Linked DNA regions of Homo sapiens: region 2 is linked to region 1. Evidence: promoter capture Hi-C in human tissues and cell types (Jung and others, 2019). All regions are on one chromosome and are shown on one strand. The core of a region is centred on a gene start or on the middle of the fragment in contact, and the rest is flanking DNA. Distances in the headings are between cores, read along the strand shown.

What was found. Contacts are between HindIII fragments. The study calls those that stand out against the background at their distance.
Region 2: a contact is called between a fragment that was not itself captured here and the fragment with the promoter of ZNF525 in region 1, in 1 of the 25 tissues and cell types used here (spleen).

Annotation. Positions count from the first base shown.
Region 1 is chr19:53,363,465-53,366,954 of GRCh38, reverse strand. ZNF525 (zinc finger protein 525) reads right to left here and starts at 1,250. Exons shown (of 4, transcript NM_001348156.2): 1 at 1,196-1,250. RefSeq lists silencers at 853-912, 1,313-1,362 and an enhancer at 953-1,202. The HindIII fragment of the contact is 12,378 bases long and covers 1-3,490 here.
Region 2 is chr19:51,920,380-51,923,549 of GRCh38, reverse strand. No RefSeq gene overlaps it. Among named protein-coding and RNA genes, the nearest start is that of ZNF613, 5.5 kb to the left of the region's middle. The HindIII fragment of the contact is 6,337 bases long and covers 1-3,170 here.

The DNA of each region.
Region 1 (3,490 bases), core at 1-2,500:
CTTTTTAGATGTAAATCTGCTGAGCCGCTGTGTACCTTAAATAAACATCCTCCTGTCTCCCCCATATCAGTCTCTCTAGTCCTCAGTTTCCCGCAACACCATCTCTGCGCCTCCTCTGCTCTCCCCGTTAAATTCTCTCTTCTCTGTTATACCCCCTGTCCCCACTCTCTGGCACCCCAGATCCCCAGGTGTCCTCCCTGCTGTGGTTCTCCCTCTGTTCTCTTTGCCACCAGCACCACTCTGCTCTGTCTGCCCTGGCTCCAAATCCCTCCTCCTCTCCCTCACCCTGATGAGCCTCCCTCTTTGCTGTCCCTCTCCCTACCTTGCTGTCCTTCATCTCTCTGTACATCTAGCTTTTCTCTACATTTCTCTAGTTGCTTTTCTCCTCCTGCTTATCTTTTTTTTTTTTTTTTTCACTTTTGCTGTCTCTTGGCAAATCCCTCACCCATCCTCTACTTTGCCATCTGTTATGGGCCTTTCTCATTCTTCTTTTCTCTGTCTCAGGTTTTCTACTGCTGTCTGTCTCCCGATCCCTTTGGCCCACACAATCACAGGAGGGTTTGGAGTAAGACGCCTGCATCCCGGAGGAGCTTATTTTCCAGGGGCTGGAACTGGGCAGGCAAGAACACCCCGTGTCACAGGACAGAACCCGGGCACCTCCCCTAACGCAGGCTCAGGGCAAGCTGTGACTGCGGATGGGAGACCTGGGGAGCAGCAGGGCCCGGCATGAGGAGGGACGTGGGGGGCGACGGCGCCTTAAGACAAGGGTGGGGTTTGTAGGATCCCAGGACAGGCAGAGAACTCGGCCTCCCCGGGACCGGAGCTGCGACGCTGCGCTCTAGGGGCCGACGAGGGCGAGGCTGGGAGGCGCCCAGGGCGGGAATTCACCTCTCGGGTGAGGACTTTAAAAAGCGCGGGGCGGGAGGAGTCAGAAAAAGGTTTAGAGCAGGAAAACTACGCGATAGAAAGTGTATATATTGCCCTATAGCAGAAAGATCCGGAACGGGACCAGCCTCAGGGAGACTTTAAACCCAAAAGGAAGTGACCCCCGGGCTCTCACGGGGACGTCTCAATTTGCTCTGGGCGAAGGAAGACGGGTGAGAATTTCCAGGTCTGTAGGGACCCCACGTCCCAGGGACAGAAGCGCCGGGGACCTGGGAAGAGCAGACTTCATACAAGATGGAGCGAAACTCACGCGCCGCTGAGGGACCTTCACTCCACGCGATCTGCTTCCGGGTTTGCGCGCGTCTGAGCGGGGAAGGACAGAAGCCAGGCCTGGGCGGGGCCTGCGAGGAGGTGGGCGGGGCCTGGGCCAGGTAGGGGTAGAGGCGGAGAGACCTTGCCCTTTAGTACCGGCAGAGGGCGGGGCGGGGCTGGGCTGGGGCGGGATCTGTGCGTCTCTCAGCCTCCCTCCCACCGCCTCTGTTTTTGGGTTTTGGAGGCGAGATGGCCAGGAAGGCCGATCCATGATTCAAAAGCCCTGGAATTGTCTGAAACGCGGATGCAAAGTAGAATGTGAAATGCAAAGCCCTGCTTGGGCAGAACTTACAATGTCATGCTGACGGCCCAGAGAATAGAATAGAAATCCTCTCCCTTTCTATTCTCCATTCACTCCGGAGGGAGAGTCCACCCTGTGCTCAGCTGCAGAGACTTCCCTAAAGCCACCGCCTGGGATGCTGGACGGAGTGCTCAGGCCAGCGAGGAGTGAGGTCACCACCTGCCGGATAAACACAGCAAGGATGCGGACGCGGGCGCGGGAGCCTGAGGTCCCATCTACTCAGGAAGCAGGGCGGGAGGATCGCTGAACCTGGGGGTCCAGGCCAGCCTGGGCGACAAAGTAACACCCCCTCCCGCAGGGCTCCCTTCCTCGTTTCTCTCTTTCTCTCTTTATTTTTCGTTGTTTTTTTTTTACGTTTTAAAATAAGAGGTTGATTGTATGAGATAGGGATCCAACATTGTTCTTTTCCATGTGGATATCCAGTTAGTTGTCCATTCCACATTTGTGGAAGAGATCTGTTACTTTCTTTTATGTATTTACTTATTTCTTTTCTTTTGTTTTGAGACAGAGTATTTCTCTGTCATCCAGGCTGCAGTGCAGTGGTGGGATCTCGACTCACTGCAAGCCTCTGCTTCCTGGGTTCAAGTGATTCCCCTGCCTCAGCCTGAAGGGGGCCTGCCCCTCCACACCTGCGGGTGTTTCTCATCAGGTGGAGATGAGAAACTGAGAAAAGAAATAAGACACAGAGACAAAGTATAGAGAAACAGCAGTGGGCCCAGACAACCGGAGCTCAGTGTGCGAGTACCCGCACCGGCGCTGGTCTCTGAGTTCCCTCAGTATTTATTGATCACTATTTTTACTATCTTTGTGAGGGGAGTGTGGCAGGGCAACAGGGTGATGGTGGCGAGAAGGTCAGCAGGGAAACGTGAGCAAAGGAATCTGTGTCATGAATAAGTTCAAGGAAAGGTACTGTGCCTGGATGTGCACGTAGGCTAGATTTATGTTTCTCTTCACACAAACATCTCAGTGTAGCAAAGAGTCACAGAGCAGTATTGCTGCCAGCATGTCTCACCTCCAACCACAGGGCGGTTTTCTCCTACCTCAGAATAGAATGAATGGTCGGCTTTACACCGAGGCATTCCATTCCCAGAAATGAGCAGGAGACAGAAGCCTTCCTCTTATCTTGACTGCAAAGAGGCCTCCCTCTTTCACTACTCCTCCTCAGCACAGACCCTTCACGGGTGTCGGGTTGGGGGATATAAGGTCTTTCTTTTCCCATGAGGCCATATCTCAGGCTGTCTCAGTGGGGGGAAACTTGGACAATACCCAGGCTTTCTAGGGCAGAGGTCCCTGCGGCTTTCCGCAGTGCATTGTGTCCCTGGTTAACAGAGAATGGAGAATGGCGATAACTTTTACCGGGCATACTGCCTGCAAACATATTGTTAACAAGGCACACCCTGCACAGCCCTAAATCCATTAAACCTTGATTCAATACAGCACATGTTTCTGTGAGCACAGGGTTGGGGCTAAAGTTACAGATTAACAGCATCGCAAAGCAGAACAATTTTTCTTAATACAGATCAAAATGGAGTTTCTTATGTCTTCCTTTTCTACATAGACACAGTAACAGTCTGATCTCTCTTTCTTTTCCCCACATTTCCCCCTTTTCTTTTTGACAAAACCACCATCGTCGTCATCACCCATTCTCAATGGTCGCTGTCTCTTCGGAGCTGCTGGGTACACCTGCAGACTAACAACAGACAGAACAGGAACACAAGGATTAATATGAAATTTACAATAGTGGAACTTGCGATGGTTTTAACCCAAGTGACCGGGTTAAGATTTGCGAGGCCATCAGCAGCTTTCGCGATTGCCTCAGTTCCTGGCACCAAATTTAAATGGGTTTTTGATGCCTCAAAAATTTTTCTTTTAATTTTGAAATGTCTAAAGTAAGATCATCTTCTCTTCCTTGTAGATGGCATCTAACCATGT
Region 2 (3,170 bases), core at 405-2,904, 1.4 Mb after region 1:
GAAGCTTTGAGTTTTCCTCTCTCTGTGGAGTCATATGGACAATGTTTGATTGTCCTAGCCATGATGTGTGACGACAGGCATGATGTATTGCCAGTACAGGAAGCCCACTTGAGCCTGGGTGTCCAGGGTTTTTATTTGGCTTTAGTTATATGGGTGAGGCTGAGCACATGAGTGGCTGACCTTATTCTTCAGCCCTTTCAGAGGCCACCATAACTACAGTGTGGCCCAAGGCTTCCATCATACATTGTTAGCATAGACGATCTTGTGTGACCCAAGGCTCCCAGTAAACAAAGACCCTCATCGGACAATATATTCCAACGGCTTAGAGTAGGAGTGTGCAGTCTTTTGGCTTCCCTGGGCCACACTGGAAGAAGAATTGTCTTGGGCCACACATAAAATATACTAACACTAACAATAGCTGATGAGCTTAAAGAAAAAAGAAAAAAAACTCAAAAAATCTCATAATGTTTTAAGAAAGTTTACAAATTTGTTTTGCATTCAAAGCCCTCCTGGAGGCCAGGCACAGTGGCTTATGCCTGTAATCCCAGCACTTTGGGAGGCTGAAGTGGGCAGATCACTTGAGGTCAGTAGTTCCAGACCAGGCTTGCCAATATGGTGAAACCCCGTCTCTACTAAAAATACAAAAAACTATCTGGGCATGGTGGCACATGCCTGTAATCTCAGCTACTTGGGAGGCTGAAGTAGGAGAATTGCTCGAATGTGGGAGAATCGCTTGAACTTGAGAGTTGGAGGTTGCAGTGAGCTGAGATTGTGCCCCTGCACTCCAGCCTGGGCAACAGAGTGAAACTCCATCTCAAACAACAAAAACAACAACAACAACAACAAAACAAAGCCCTCCTGGGCTGTGTGCACCACCACCAACAACAACAAAACAAAGCCCTCCTGGGCCATGTGCACCCCATGGTCCGCAGGTTGGACAAGCTTGGTTTAGAAGTTACCTGCCAGGTATAGGGAAGGGCTGAGCCTTTCTTTGGAATGTTCAGTTTCTGGGTAACCCAGACTCGCTCTGTTTATCCTTTACTGCACAGCTTGTCTTCACACCATGATGTCTTGAATCTCAACTGGAAGACTCAGAAGGTTGGGGACTGGAATCATCTGAAGGCTTCTTCCTCTCTGTATCTGTGTGCCAGGCTGGGATTACTTGAAAACTAGGCTCAAGGAGGCTGCCAGCCAGAGCACCTGTGTGTGACCTCCACATGTGACATGGATGGGCTTCTCACAGCATGATGCTGGCTCTGAGACAGCCAAGATGCGGCCACAGGGCCTTTTCTGCCTTAGCCTCAGAAGTTATGTTGTGTCACCTCTGTTGCATTCTGCAGCTAGCTCAGTCGGTAGAGCATGAGACTCTTAATCTCAGGGTCATGGGTTCGTGCCCCATGTTGGGTGCCAGATGAAGGAGGCCTGCCCCTCCACACCTGTGGGTATTTCTCACAAGGTGGAGACGAGAGACTGAGAAAAGAAATAAGACACAGAGACAAACTATCGAGGAAGAAAAGTGGGCCCAGGGAACCGGCACTCAACATACGGAGGACCCGCACCAACACTGGTCTCTGAGTTCCCTCAGTATTTATTGATTACTATCTCTACTATCTCGGTGAGGGGGATGTGGGAGGACTATAGGGTAATGGTGGGAAGAGGGTCAGCAGGAAAACGTGAGCAAAGGACTCTGTGTTATAAATAAGTTTAAGGAAAGGTGCTGTGCCTTGATATGCACATAGGCCAGATTTATCTTTGACTTTACACAAACATCTCAGTGAAGTAAAGACAGTATTGCCCCCACCATGTCTCACCTCCAGCCATAAGGCAGTTTTCTCCTATCTCAGTAAATAGAATGTACGATCGGGTTTTACACTGACACATTCCATTCCCAGGGATGAGCAGGAGAGAGATACCTTCCTCTTATCTCAACTGCAAAGAGGTCTTCCTCTTTCACTAATCCTCCTCAGCACAGACCCTTTATGGGTGTCAGGCTGGGGGACAGTCTGGTCTTTCTCTTTCCATGAGGCCATATCTCAGGCTGTCTCAGTGGAGAGAAACCTTGGACAATACACAGGCTTTCTTGGGCAGAGATCCCTGTGGCTTTCTGCAGTGCATTGTGTCCCTGGGTACTCGAGACTGGAGAATGGCCATGACTTTTACCAAGCATACTGCCTGCAAACACATTTTTACCAAGGCACATCCTGCACAGCCCTAAGTCCATTAAACCTTGAGTCAATACAATACATGTTTCTGCAAGCATAGGGTTGGGGCTAGGGTTACAGATTAACAGCATCTCAAGGCAGAATAATTTCTCTTAGTACAGATCAAAATGGAGTTTCTTTTGTCTTCCTTTTTCTACATAGATGCAGTAATAGTCTGATCTCTCATTCTTTCCCCCATGCTTTTCTGCCTTAGCCTCGGAAGTTATGTTGTGTCACCTCTGTTGTATTCTGCAGGTACAAGCAAATCACCAAGACTAGCTAGGTTCAAGGGGGAAGGGAATAGGCTCCATCTCTTCGTGTGGGAGTGGCAAGATTTAGCAGAAGGTTTTCTTTGGAATGTGAGATATTATTGTGGTCATCTTTGGGAAATGCAGTCTACCACATGGACACAATAACAAATCGTTTCCTTTTCCCTGAGGAGAAAGCTCCTCTAGAAAAGTGAATATTTCATGTTACTTAAGAAGAAATTTCTTTGATGGGTCATGATATAGATCATATAGAAGTTAGTGCCCCCACAGATAAGCCAGTGGTGTAATACCAAAACCAAACTCAGTGATCAGAGTGCTTCAGGGACCCAGAACAGTGTAGCCAAAGTCCACAGCCTCCTGGGGGTCTGTTTTTATTCAGGGATAAAATGTAGAGATTTTTAAGATGGATGGATTCTATGACCATCATATGGTCTTCCACAAAGAGTCCTCAATATTCTGCTTTTTTTTTTATCAGTGGTTTTCATTTTTTGACCCCAGGTGACATTTGGCAATGTCTGGAGAAATTTTTGATTGTCACACCTGGGAAAGGAGGGTGTGCTAATTGGAGCTAGTGGATAGAGGCTAAGAATGCTGCTAAGCATCCTACAATGACACTACAGTGCCCCAAAATAAAGAATTCTCCAAACCAAAATGTCAATGCCTGTTACAGTCTGTTCCTATGGGATTGAACGAAATGGGA